Linked DNA regions of Homo sapiens: all the other regions are linked to region 1. The links are contacts of gene promoters, found by promoter capture Hi-C in blood cells and fetal thymus (Javierre and others, 2016). All regions are on one chromosome and are shown on one strand. The core of a region is centred on a gene start or on the middle of the fragment in contact, and the rest is flanking DNA. Distances in the headings are between cores, read along the strand shown.

Region 1 (2,700 bases), core at 169-2,668:
GTCAGCACAGACCCCGTCATAATAGAGTAGGTAAGCAATGCTTACCTGTCAAATGAATGAATGAAACACCCGATTCATCCCCCAAGCCAGCTTAATACATTAGATGATCTTATGGACTGAATAAGACATCCCTCCTTTTAAAGAATATTTTTGTTTTAGCTTCACATCAGCAAACCCCGAACGGTTCATCCTAAGATAAGCCTGGTAGAGAGGAAAGATACTAACCTTCTAGGGTCCTAAAGTGGAACTAGGAACTTATTAGATATGCACATTCTCAGGCATTATTTCCGATAGCCCAGTCAGAGAATTCTGGGGGTATGGCCCAGCAATCTGTTTTAACAAACCTTTCAGGTAATTCTGATACACACTAAAGTTTGAAAGGTTTCTTTAAGGCTTTCCAGTTTTCTTTTCTTTTTTGGAGGGATGGGGGGGGGTCTCCCCATGTTGCCCAGGCTGGTCTCGAACTCCTAGCCTCAAGCTATCCTATCCTCCCACCTCGGCCTTCCAAAGCATTGAAATTACAGGCATGACCCACTGCGGCTCGCCTCCGTTTCTAACTTAAAAAAATTTTCTTTGGAGGGGAGCCTTAATCCTTTCTATTATCCTGCTAGTAGAATCTTACTACTCCTGAGGGTAATCTTTGTCATAATCCAAAAGCCTTGAATAAAGGCCTATTTGTATAGTTATGCAGAATATATTCCTGGGAGGTTTGCCTTCCTAGGAGCACAGGTCGGCCCTGGGAGGTGGGGGTTGGGGGGCAGGGCTGCATTCTAAAGTCCTGTAACAACGCACAAGTACAACTGAATAGAACTCGGAACAAAGGCATCAGGGCCACGGTGCAAGTCTTTGTTCATCCGTTCCCCGACTGCTCACCCTGTCTGATACCGCTCTTTTCCACCCAGAAAAGCAGCCACTCAAGTTTTAAGAATGGATGTATGCCGCGGACGTTTTCGATTAGGCCGTTTTCTCTCAGGCACTGGAGGATATTCGTGGCTGCAGGAGGCGCTTCCACCCTTTCCTCAACCTAGCAAAGAAGTAACTGAAACTAACCCAAGGGTTACAACCGAAAAGCCCCTTCCAGCTTCAGAAGCAGAACTGGAAGCTCGGATAGACTTCTCCGCCTCTACACTCCTGGAAAACCCGCAGTGGATTTCACCAACTTCAGGATCGGAGCCCAGGCAGGCGAACGTACCTTATTGCGCATGCTCGCTAGCCCCTCCCGCTCGGAGCGGAAGGGGGAGCGCTGGGGGCCTGGGCCTGGCCTGGCCGGGGCGTCGGCACCGGCGGCCATCTTGGCTTCCCGGGGAAAGGCGGCGTGAGGGGAAGAAGTTGTAGGGTGGGGGCAGGAGTGAGGAGGAGGGAAGAGAGAGGGGGAGGAGGCCGCGGCGGGGCAGGGCGGGGACTGCCTGCCTGCCTGGGTTGCGGAAGTGATAGCCGCCGACCGAGCCTGCTGCTTTCTTGCTACTGCTTCGGCTTCCCGGCTACCCCCCGGACGGTGAAGGCGGCCCAGCTGTGGATGGTCAGATAGCCCTTGTCTCCCGCCGCCAATCTCTGGCCCCTAGCAGCACGGAGCAGACGGCGGCAGCAGCAGCAGCAGGCGAGGAGGAAGATGGCGGGACGGCTGCCGGCCTGTGTGGTGGACTGTGGCACGGGGTAAGGGGGCTTACGGGCGGGGGTGGGGAAACTGAGGCGGAGGAAGGAAGATGGCGGGGGAGGGAGGAGGCCGGGAAATGAATGGTGCGGCGAGGTGCCGCCGCCGGCTGTCAGTCCTAGACCCGCCGGCCAGCGAGGGGTGGGGCCCGCAGCCAGGGCCTCGCGGGTCCCCTCGTTTCTCCCTCCTGGGACTGGGGCGGGGGCGCGGGCCCGAGATTCAACCCCCAACCCTCCCAGCGGCTTTCTCCGCGCGACCCCTCCCGGCCCTTCCCCCACTACGGTGGGCAGCGCCGCCCAAAGGGCGCTGGGGACGGTCGTCTTGGGGGTGGTCCCCGGGCCCGACCCATCCGGCTTTCCTTTCCCTCCGCGCCCGTTTTTGCCAGTCGGTTTGGGGACCCAGGGGCCGAGCTCGGGGACTGGCCTGGCAGGGGAGCTAGAAAAGAGAAGCGCTCCTGGTAGGTTTGACAAGATCGCTGTGACAACATTCTGCCCAGGGTGTGGGTGGGGAAAGGGAAGAATCGGACTCTGAAAATGGGAACCTACAGTGGGGCTTTCATTTGACCACCCACCTTCTCCTTTCGACTCCTGGTCATTTCCATCTCCCTCTGCGTTTTAACCGGTGAACCAAGTCACATTTTAATTCGAGGGAGAAAGATGTCATGTGTTACTTCTGTAGCCTCAAAAAAGTCCCCCAGTGAGCAAGCGCGCTGCAACTTCCTTAGTTTTGTCAAAGCCGCTTCCTGCTTTCAGTCTTTTATACCCTTATAAGGTAGTTTTTAGTTTCCAACCTGAGCACATCTTACTAGAACTTTTAAGCAGGTTTTAAAGAGACTGAATTACCGGTGCTTGGTGTCCATTTATATGACTTAAAAAAATGTACTTATGTTTCATGGAGTGGGGGAAAGGAAGCACCCTGGAAAATAAACTAATTTAAGTTGTATTCGTTCATTCTGTGATGGTATCTTGAAGGAAGCAGGAAGGTATAGAGGTATATAGGAGGGTGTTTAAGTTGCAAATAGTTACTCGTAGATATGTAGGGTAGTTTGC
Region 2 (2,700 bases), core at 1-2,500, 3.9 Mb after region 1:
TTTTCTCTTTATCTTCTATTTTGTGGTGTTTTAGTTCTTTTTGTTCCCTGTTTTTTTCCTTTTGTTCATTCCTGACACCAAATATTTTATATGCACACTAGCAGCTTCTAGGATTCCTTGGTTTGTCCTTTTCTGAGTCTCATTCTATGTTGTAATAGGAAAATGATTGGCCCTGTACGAGGTTAACCTCCTTTGGCCTTTGTTCCTTTATAAAGTTGAGTTTAGGCTAGAATTCACTGCTCCTAACCAGATATGTCTAGGAGTTACTTGAGTTGTTTATTTGGTTTGGGTTGGTTGGTTTGTTAAAATGTTGAGGCCCAACCCTAGACCTGCTTAATCCAAATTGCAAACGTTTTGGTAGTAGCTCTCGAGCAGGGAAATTCGCCCCCCGAGTAAGAAGAGTAACTCTTCCTGGTTTGCCCAGAACTTTAACAGTTTTAGCACTGAAAGTTCTGAATCCCAAGAATCTCCTCTGTCCCTAGCCTACTGAGAAGATTGGTCATCCTAAGCCTAGGAGACATTTTTGGTTCTCAGAGCTAGGAGCAGTCTGCTGGGATCTGGTGAGTAGAGGTCAGAAACACTGCATAATATCTTATAAGGCACAGGATAGTGTTTCACAGCAAAGAATTATTCAGCCCAGATGTCAGCAATGCCAAGGTCAAGAGTGATTGGTTTACACCCTGGGCATGTGGAGTATGGGGAACCCCCAGGTGATTTTGATGCCTTCTGCTGAACCACCACTGTATTACTTGATACGTAGGCTCAGCCTAACATTCTGTGGCTGTATCTGACTCTTCTGTGTCTTGTTGGAGTGAGATTAACAGGTTTTTTTTTTATTATTGACTTCACACTCAGTTTTTATTAATGCTCAATGTTTTCACTTTTATATCAGATTTCTTAAACATTTCATTTATCTCTGGACTCTCATTATTTTCCTTGTTTTGGTATTTTTATTTTATATAAATTCCTTGGTTATACCTCCTCTCTACCCCTTGTTTTGTTATAGTATGGTCTCTGGACTATAACTCACACAGCCGTTAACAGTGGAGAAACTTGAAAGATATAGGGTCTTTTTCTTGATATTATCACATATGAATAATTAAGGTTTAGCCTTTTCTTACTGCGGGAAGCTTTTCTAAGCAAAATAGATTTAGGCAACTGTAGCAATACTTTTTTAAAAAAAAAGATAAATTTGCTAATGATAAATTGTCTTCTGTTTAGGAGCTTTTGAGGATACTTCGTTTGCTTCTCTATGTAATCTTGTCAATGAAAACACTCTGAAGGCAATAAAAGAAATGGGTTTTACAAACATGACTGAAATTCAGCATAAAAGTATCAGACCACTTCTGGAAGGCAGGTATGATTAACATTGAAGCTTAGATATTGGCATCTATTTTTAGAACTAGTAGATGATAAAGAACATACCAGTATATTCTGTTGATTTTGTACTATATGTTGGGTCATGTATCCAGCATACATTAAAGGCTTTAAGTTAATTACTGATGTTTGAAGGAAAGTGTTCGAAAGGTGTTCTGCTTCTGTTGTAGCACAGTTCTGACTTATGATTTCAGTATATAACCCAGGTGATCAATTTCAGCACTGTAGACGTTTCTTGTTCATGTTCTAGCCGTAGTGCCTAAGGTGTGTGTATGTAGTACGTCGTAAATGAGTAGGCTAAATGTCTTTCTCCTTTCCCTTTTTAATATTTAGGGATCTTCTAGCAGCTGCAAAAACAGGCAGTGGTAAAACCCTGGCTTTTCTCATCCCTGCAGTTGAACTCATTGTTAAGTTAAGGTTCATGCCCAGGAATGGTAAGCGTTCATCTGCTTGTTTCTGCCATTATTTCACTAGAGGTTTATTGTAGCTGTTACGGACTCAGTGGTGACAGCCACATTTAGACTTCTACCATATATCATTTTTAGGAACAGGAGTCCTTATTCTCTCACCTACTAGAGAACTAGCCATGCAAACCTTTGGTGTTCTTAAGGAGCTGATGACTCACCACGTGCATACCTATGGCTTGATAATGGGTGGCAGTAACAGATCTGCTGAAGCACAGAAACTTGGTAATGGGATCAACATCATTGTGGCCACACCAGGCCGTCTGCTGGACCATATGCAGGTAAGAGATGTAGTGCTTGTCTCATTGTCTTGTATGAAACATAAACTGACAACTAATGGTTGTTCTTTGTCCTTTGTTTTGTTAGAATACCCCAGGATTTATGTATAAAAACCTGCAGTGTCTGGTTATTGATGAAGCTGATCGTATCTTGGATGTGGGGTTTGAAGAGGAATTAAAGCAAATTATTAAACTTTTGCCAAGTAAGTAGGTAGCATCTGCATTTGGTTTGCAAAGTATCTGTTGGAGGTAGATAAGAGTTGTTCCTATAGAAAAACTGTACTAATGCCAGAACTTTACCATAGCCAAGTGAGGTAGTTGTGCCAATTAACCCGAAAGGTAATTTGGAATACAAGCATCAAATGTATTATAACTTGATATAATAGTTTTGCTGTTTTAGAAGTTATAAGGCACGTTAAGCAGTCTTCACATAGGTCCTGTCCTCCACCTCTTGCCCATTCTTACCTCATCTAACATCCCCCAAGAAGCCGCAGATTTTTTGCCTTACTTGTACATACCTTGGTTATAGTACTTGCAACATTATGAACTGGTTATAACTAAGACCATGGTTTCCTTCATTA
Region 3 (2,700 bases), core at 22-2,521, 4.2 Mb after region 1:
TTTTCAAGGATTTTGTATTGTAACTTTGTGACTTCCTACCCCTTTTCATTTAAAGATTTCTGCCTACACCAGGCCAGACATCAAGGGAAAACAATTATCACAAAGGTAAGTCTATAAAGGAAACCATTTTAAATAAGCCAAGTCAGCAAGTCTTTTCTTCCTTTTTAAAATCTCAAATATGTAGCTAATCTTTAGGAAAATAAAGAACATCACATTCTACTGCATAAACAGCCCCATCTAATCTATCAATCAAATATGATTGATCAGACACAGTGATTACTTGGATAATTAGTACAGGGTTTAGGTTTATGCAGTACTCTGAAGCCTTTGGGATGTCTGCATAATTACCATTTGTACAGTAGATCGAGTTATAGGAATTCTGCTAGTCGATTATAAACATGAAGCACTTAGAATAGACAACTCGAACTAGCACAAGTTTCTTAATTCATTGCATTTGATACAAATGCAATAGCTTGTCATGAGGCAAAGCTTTATTTGGCCAAAAGCTCTGAAGTTAGCATATATACATTTAAAAAACAACCTATCTCTTCTTGTATCTAGTGTCTTCCACCAGATTTGCAAGGCAGGAGAGAGGTAATTTCACAAGGGGACTGTGGCATCCAAAGCACAGCAACTTGAGTTGAGCCACTTCAATATTCTCCCATAAATTCCCTGGGACAACTTTAAAAAGAGTCGACTTTACATCTTCTGTCTACAATCATCTATTTTCACATCAAGATGAACAACATTATCCTCATCTGCGGGAGGATCTGAGACTAGCGCCTCGACACGAGGCTTTCTACTTAATGTTGTAATGACAGGTGTAAGATTAACTTTGTTAGGTGTCTAGCCACTCATGCAAACTAAATTAAATTAATGGAACAAATTTCTCTCATAATTAAGATAAAAATTCATGTCAGCTGTAACCTTGCTGTACACTAATTATATACAAATGATTTATCATCTGCTTCGCCCAGAATATTAATCCTTACCTCATTGATAACTGCAGCCAGTGTTAAGAGATGAGAGTTGATTAACTATGACAGATTGGGCAACCACAGCCCTCGGTGCCGGCGCTACCAGTGAAACCAATAACACTCAAGTAGCTCTCTGTGTTTAAAATGCATTCCCATGGAAACAGATGCATGCTTAATGAAGGATACTGAGATTATTTTCAATAATGACTGATATTGGAACAGTGGGCAGAGCTGATCAATAACAATTAACCACTTAGTCTGCTAAAGACATGGTTAGAGAAAGCAGGTTATTTCCACATTAGCAGAACCTTATTCGAAGCCGAGTGCTCCATAATGTCTCTATGCTGCACCGTTTCCCTTTTTCCCTGCCTGGGAGGGGCTCCATGGTGGAGAGATGGTATTGTGCCAAGCGCCCTCCTGTCGCCTCTTAGCGCCTGCTTATGAAATGAGTGATTGATGTTGCCAGCGGTTCTTTGGATGCTCTCAAGATAGCTGCCAAATGTATCAAGGAAAGTCCAAAAGCAACTGTGACCATGAAACTAATATTGCTTTGTATGGATTTGGTTTGGTAGAAAACTTTACTGCCAAGGCGTAACTCAATTGTACAGAAATTTCTTTTGATCTTTCATTGTATGCTTTTTAATTTAATTTTAAAGAATCCAAGACGAGTCGTGTAGATATTTAAGGAAATCCTTTGCTTTGGACTCCTGTCATACTGGCTGGAAAGGGCTTTAATAACATAAATTTAATAATAGATATGGCTTTCAACACTATTTGGAAATTTGCACTTTTATTTTGTATTAATTTGAATCACCCCAGGAGTCAAGATCTTGCAATGCTAATTACTAATATAGACTCCCAGAATCCCTACCCTGACAGTCAGCTTGGAGAAATCCCAACTCCCTGGGCCAAAAAGTGTTAATAAAAAGTGATTAGCTACTTAGGCCAAGGCATATTATAATAATGCATTATATTTCCCTTGAATGGATGATATGCATTCTCATTTCTCTGAATGAAGAAAATGGTTGAGGGAGATGAAAATTCAGTCACTTCGACTGACATTATTACTGAAAGAATCAAGCTTTTAAAACAAATAGAAGAATGCTGCTTTCTCTGCACTTCTTAGATTTAAGACTCCAATCTGAAAATGCAAATAAACAGAAATATACTCTATTTACCAGTCTAGTTCATCTGTTTGTTCTATTTTGCAGACCTACGTGTGAACTAATGCAAGCAGCTAATGCCAAGCCTAACATGCTCCATATGTGTTAGAAGTTTTAAGGTGAAGAAAAGAACTGGCCTTTTTCTTCCTTTAGCCCTGTGAGACAGACATTCTGCACTTAAATTATCAGCCACAGGGCATCCGTGGCTGGGAATCCAAACAGATGCTAATGAATTTGGAACAACATTTAAGTGGCTGAACAAAAATGGATCCTAAACACCCCCAAATCAAGTGCAACAAACAAGAAATAGGCTGACACATTTCTATCAGGAAGGCAACCAGAATGTCAAACTCTTGAATGATACTGGGTGATCTCAGCTCTGTTTTATCATCTCAGTAAATAAATCTAGAGATGATAAACAACCATAAATACCTGCAACAAATGCTCCATAAAAACCAAATCTTAAATATATTCCACACATTCCTCTCCAATCACCATCCTCCACCCCGCCCCCATCAAAAAATGACTAACCTTTTGCCAAACCTCTAGGTAGACATAGA
Region 4 (2,700 bases), core at 117-2,616, 4.2 Mb after region 1:
GATGTGGTACCGTTGAAGCGTCAGTCTTTGATTCACAGACAGTTGAGCTTTTCAGCTGGGAAGCCTTTCCATTTTTTTTTTTTTAACGGCTTTCTGAACCTATGAAACCATGGCAGAAGGAGAGACAGAGTCACCTGGGCCCAAAAAGTGTGGCCCATATATTTCATCTGTCACTAGCCAGAGTGTGAACTTGATGATTCGAGGAGTAGTGCTATTTTTTATTGGAGTATTTCTTGCATTAGTGTTAAATTTACTTCAGATTCAGAGAAATGTGACGCTCTTTCCACCTGATGTGATTGCAAGCATCTTTTCTTCTGCATGGTGGGTACCCCCATGCTGTGGCACGGCTTCAGGTATGTGTAGGATGTTTCTGTAATGCTTAGAAAGGAAATAGGGTAAATGAGTATGGACGTTGTCTGAGCAATAAACCTTTTTAAAAAAGAAAATATATTTATTGAGATATAATTTAGGTATAATACACTGGACCCGTTTGAATTGAACAACTTGATGTGTTTAGGCAAATGCGTACAGTCACATGACCACTGCCAATCCAGCTGTGGAACATTTCCATCACCCTCCAGAGTCTCTCGTGTCCTCTTGCAGTCCATTCCCCACCCCCAGCCTCAGGCTACCACTGATCTGCTTTCTGTTGCCATAAATTATTTATCTCTGTTCTAGAATGCAATATAAATGGGCTCATAACGTATGTACTCCCTTCTGTCTCATTCTATCTGTCCTGTAAACTTTTAACATTTAATTCTGAAAAACAATCCTGTTTCCCTTAGGGATGAAGCATTTAACCCCTTAATTTTGTTCTTTCTTCAACCCATCTCATCTAAGTGTTATTTTAAGTTATTTGGATGATGAGCACCACCATTTGGTTTTAAGGGTTTGATGCATGTGCTGTAGTCTTGTTTCTGAAGTAATAAAAACTTGAATAATTAAAGTTTAAAGCTTCATGTTGTATTTTTGTAAATGCTTTTTTCCTTGGTATCTTGTTTTTATAAGTACCTTAGAATAATAAATATTTAAAGACATCTATAAGGTAGACTCTCTTTGCTTAAAATTAGTATCCTATTAGTTACTTTAGATATTTTTTTGGTGGTGGGCAGTGTGTAATGCATAGAGTAGAGCATTTCACAATACTTTATTGCTGCCATACTTCCACAATGGATAGCACTTTAGTGTTTTCTAATGACCAAGACCAATAGATTAATACTGTTTTTAATAATAAAGTAATAAAAGGAAACCATAATCATGTGGTAGAAGATAATTCTGATTGAAGGAGAAAATTGCTTTTTAAATACCCATTTGGTGTCTCATACTTAACATATATGAATGAATATCTTGCAACATAATATATGTCCTTCTTGGCTTCCATCCAAGAGCGGGAGGTTGAAGGATGAGGTTGCGCTTTACGGAAGTGTTAGAATGGCCTTGTGAAACTTGCTGGACAATTATAGAATCCTGTTGCACAGTTAGAGGGGCACTGTTGTAGTAAGGCTTCAGTGTTTATATACTGATGTCTCACTATTACATCGTTCACATTAAAAGTGAAGTCATGAAGGCAGTGATTCTTAGTTTCCCAGGGTTATCATTCTCCAAGAGAAAAGGCAAAAAATAGTCCAAATAAAAAACAAATTAAATTGTATCACTCTGCTGTATGTACTGGTCCTCATGCATTTTTCTTTCATTTAAATTCAGAAGAGAAAACGTTTTCTCAACAACTTTTCTAGTTCTTTGTTTCTTTTCTTCTATAGTATAGTCTGGCTGCCAGTAGAAGCTTTTTGGGACATGGAAGAGCATACATGTCTTTTCAGGATAGAACAGAGGGAAGGGAAACTGTTGTTTATTGAATGTCTGCTAATGTGCTAGGTACATCCTGTAATCCCAGGGTTCTGTAGAGCAACTTTGGGAGAGAGATGTTTGGCATTGTGCCTGTTATGGGGAGATGAGGACACTCACTGAGATGAAGAAAGAAAACCAGTGAGCCCAGGGTCCCAGAGCCAGTGAGTGGTGTGACTGGGTCCACATGTCACATGCTGGGGAAGGGAAAAGGAAGCTACTCACACTTTTCCCCCTACTCAGGATGCCACTTTTCAAGCCTCCAGACTGGGTGCCAGACCTAGATGGAATTCCCTGGCGTGTGTTGTGCATTTGGGCTGGGGCAGGAGAACTTAACTGAGGTTTCATTGTACCTCCACTATGAAGAGTAACAGGGCTGCACCTGCTGTCTTGTCCTTCTGCCCCTTTAATGTCAGCACTTTTGCCATAAACTTACATTTTAGGAAGGAAAATTTCAAATGCTAATACCACAGTTCAGCCACTACTTTCCTTCCTGTTCCCAGCCACTAGGTTTGTCACACTTACAAACTTAACCTCATTTGGGGAATTTGCATTTACATTTCTTGCTTAAGTATTTCTTCTGAAAGCAGTTTGTACCATAAGGTACTTGGGCAAAAGAAAGTAGAGAGACATTAGGAAATCTAGATTCCAGCCAATTCTGCTACCAATTTTGTTAGTTAAGTCATGGTGTTTAGTAGATGAGAGTGAAAGATATCAGATTTGTCCAAGTTGCCAGAGATGGAAAATGGATTCTCTCAAAATCTCTGCTCTGCCATCCCCTGCATCATTATTTTAGGGAAAGTATCATGGGAAAAGAAGTAAATGATTTAAGAAACATAGTGTGTTTGAGTTTGT
Region 5 (2,700 bases), core at 75-2,574, 4.1 Mb after region 1:
GTACAGAGTTGTGTGATGTTCCTCTTTGGAGCCTCACAAATACTTTCCAGTTCGTGGGTAAAGAGGTACCATAGTGATATAGTTTGGATATTTGTCCCACCCAGATCTCATGTCAAAATGTAATAGCCAGTGTTGGAGGTGGGGCCTGGTGGGAGGTGATTGGCTCGTTGGGGTGGATTTTTTGTGAATGGTTTAGCAACATCCTCTTGGTGCTGTCTTCCTGACACTGAGTCACTCATCACGAGATCTGGCTGTTTAAAAGTGTGGCACTTATCCTCTCTAGCTCTTGCTTTCACCATGTGACATGCCTGCTCTCCTTTCACCTTCCACCATGATTGTAATCTTCCTAAAGCCTCCCCAGAAGCCAAGCAGATGCCGGCGCCATGCTTTCTGTAAAGCCTGTAGAACTGTGAGTTAATTAAACCTCTTCTTTATAAATTACCCAGTCTCAGGTATTTCTTTATAGCAATGGGAGAATGGCCTAATACACATAGTAAAGAGCTTCCTGTTAGGCTTAGCTTTGTTCTGGAGGAAGTTTTCTTTCTTTTTTTTCTTTTTTTTTTTTTTTGAGACGGAGTCTCGCTCTGTCACCCAGGCTGGAGTGCAGTGGTGCGATCTCGGCTCACTGCAAGCTCCGCCTCCCGGGTTCACGCCATTCTCCTGCCTCAGCCTCCCGAGTAGCTGGGACTACAGGCGCCCGCCACCACGCCCGGCTAATTTTTTGTATTTCTACTAGAGGCGGGGTTTCACTGTGTTAGCCAGGATGGTCTCGATCTCCTGACCTCGTGATCCGCCCACCTCGGCCTTCCAAAGTGCTAGGATTCCAGGCGTGAGCCACCGCTCCCAGCCGGAAGTTTTCTATAAAGCTTTAATTATTCTGTCTTCAGGCTTCTCTCATTCCTTCTACATGTAGTGCAACAATGGGTGTTCAGTAAAGTAGAGTGACACAGCGAGGTCACACAGCACATTAGAGGGAGTGCTAGAACCAGAGCCCCAAATTTCTCATTCCCCATGTTCTTTTGCTCACCCATCCAACCATCCATCCATCCATCCATCCATCCAACAAATATTGCTGAGTTTCTTCTATGTCAGTAGCTCTCAAACTTGGCTGCACATTGGAATCACCTGGATTCCACCCTTAGCAATCCTGATTTAATTGGGCTAGGGAGAGGCATGAATATTGAATTTTTTGCCTTGGAACATATTGTTTTATATACAACACAGTAGTGAATAGTGACTTCATTATGGATTTGTTTCTTTATAGATCACAGTGGCATATAAAATTCAAAATCCATAAACAAAGAGCTCTTAGGTTAAATGAGTTCTTCCTAAAAATTCTTAATGGCATGCTGGTCTATTCTCAAGCGGTACAATTTTATAATGCACCATCCTATATTTAGCATGTCACATTTCTACAGTAACATAATGGAGGCACAGGCAGTGCAAGCAGATTTAAACCCCTTCTACTTCTGGACTGAAGGTTAGAAAAACACAGCGTGTACACACACACACTTGGATGAGTTCTTCCAATACGTTTTCCCCCAAAAATGATAGTTTTATCAAAGAATTTCAATAACTTTCATAGTTTGTACAACCACACTCTATTAGCTACATTAAAAAGGATTCAACAAGGGGCCAACTACACAGTAGTAAATAAACATGTTTGAGAATATCTGCTACATTCTCTATCTCCTGGAGAAAATAATATTTACATTTTTTTGTAAAGTGATTTAATAACTAAACAATTCTTTCTTTTGGTCGGGGGTAGGTAATGGGATTTTCAAAGCTTCACAGGTGATTCCAATAAGCAGTCAATTTGAGAAGAGTTTCTCTGTGCCAGAAACTGTTCCTGATGCTGCAGATACTGCAGTCAACACACCAAACAAGATAATTACTGACAGAAATTAAACATGTAATTAATAAGATAATATCAGGTAGAAATAGGTGCTATTAAAGGGGGGAAAAACAGTGTAGTTTGGGTGTGGTGGCTCACACCTGTAATCCCAGCACTTTGGGAGGCTGAGGCAGGCAGATTGCTTGAGCCCAGGAGTTCAAGACCAGCCTGGGAAACATGGCAAAAACCTGTCTCTACAATTAACAACAACAACAACAAAAAAAACAAAAACCAAAAAACAAGCAATGACAACTACAACAACAACAATTAAAAAAAACCAGTGTAATGCAATAAAGAATAGCTAGAGTCAGAGTCACTTTTAGATGAAGGGGCCAGGATTAGGCTTTGCAGTGCCATTTGAGAGAGACCTAAATCCCAAAAGGACACCATAGAAGGGCCTCAGGGGAAAGCATTGCTGGCAGAAGGAGCATCTGAGGTGTTCTGGACAGTTTCCCATTACCCTTCCAGTCCTGCTCTCAGTCCTCTCCTTGTTTGTTTCAGCACAAGGCTGACCAGTAAGGACTTCAGCAGCAGGGCCTGGGGTATGAGGATCTGGGATGTGGGTCTTGGGATGAAGGGGTGTCTGGGATGTGAGTCCTGGGGTTTGGGGGAACTGAGTTATAGGGACTAGGAAGTAAGATTTCAATAGTAATTTGACAAAATATATTAAGAACTTAAAAATTTTCTTTGATATGATACTTCCACTTTCAGGGCTTATATCAGATCTTCATCACAATGTTACTGATGAGAAAAAAAACCTATAAACCATCTAAATAGCCCATAATAAGGGACTGGTTAGGTACATT

Evidence for each region. The method cuts DNA at HindIII sites, captures the fragments that hold promoters and counts their contacts. A CHiCAGO score of 5 or more calls a contact.
Region 2: a contact is called between a fragment that was not itself captured here and the fragment with the promoter of ACTR3 in region 1, in 2 of 17 cell types (fetal thymus and naive CD8 T cells). The highest score is 8.6, in fetal thymus.
Region 3: a contact is called between a fragment that was not itself captured here and the fragment with the promoter of ACTR3 in region 1, in 1 of 17 cell types (M0 macrophages). The highest score is 5.1, in M0 macrophages.
Region 4: a contact is called between a fragment that was not itself captured here and the fragment with the promoter of ACTR3 in region 1, in 1 of 17 cell types (M0 macrophages). The highest score is 5.0, in M0 macrophages.
Region 5: a contact is called between a fragment that was not itself captured here and the fragment with the promoter of ACTR3 in region 1, in 1 of 17 cell types (fetal thymus). The highest score is 5.1, in fetal thymus.

What each region holds. Positions count from the first base shown.
Region 1 is chr2:113,888,671-113,891,370 of GRCh38, forward strand. It overlaps ACTR3 (actin related protein 3), which reads left to right and starts at 1,419. Exons shown (of 12, transcript NM_005721.5): 1 at 1,419-1,653. The coding sequence starts at 1,610. It overlaps ACTR3-AS1 (ACTR3 antisense RNA 1), which reads right to left and starts at 2,322. Exons shown (of 5, transcript NR_110174.1): 1 at 2,223-2,322. LOC124906071 (a long non-coding RNA gene) reads right to left here and starts at 1,097. Exons shown (of 3, transcript XR_007087205.1): 1 at 1-1,097. RefSeq lists enhancers at 790-1,099, 1,220-1,309, 1,342-1,997, 2,080-2,129, 2,180-2,359 and silencers at 1,390-1,449, 1,690-1,949. The HindIII fragment of the contact is 5,488 bases long and covers 1-2,700 here.
Region 2 is chr2:117,819,940-117,822,639 of GRCh38, forward strand. It overlaps DDX18 (DEAD-box helicase 18), which reads left to right. Exons shown (of 14, transcript NM_006773.4): 4 at 1,222-1,357; 5 at 1,711-1,811; 6 at 1,923-2,122; 7 at 2,208-2,322. Among named protein-coding and RNA genes, the nearest start is that of DDX18, 6.6 kb to the left of the region's middle. RefSeq lists silencers at 645-694, 705-774. The HindIII fragment of the contact is 245 bases long and covers 1,129-1,373 here.
Region 3 is chr2:118,052,532-118,055,231 of GRCh38, forward strand. The region is part of intron 2 of LOC102723413 (a long non-coding RNA gene); the gene reads left to right. Among named protein-coding and RNA genes, the nearest start is that of INSIG2, 35 kb to the right of the region's middle. The HindIII fragment of the contact is 1,569 bases long and covers 488-2,056 here.
Region 4 is chr2:118,096,448-118,099,147 of GRCh38, forward strand. INSIG2 (insulin induced gene 2) reads left to right here. Exons shown (of 6, transcript NM_016133.4): 2 at 1-353. The coding sequence starts at 110. Among named protein-coding and RNA genes, the nearest start is that of INSIG2, 9.3 kb to the left of the region's middle. The HindIII fragment of the contact is 829 bases long and covers 953-1,781 here.
Region 5 is chr2:118,016,901-118,019,600 of GRCh38, forward strand. No RefSeq gene overlaps it. Among named protein-coding and RNA genes, the nearest start is that of CCDC93, 4.2 kb to the left of the region's middle. The HindIII fragment of the contact is 920 bases long and covers 865-1,784 here.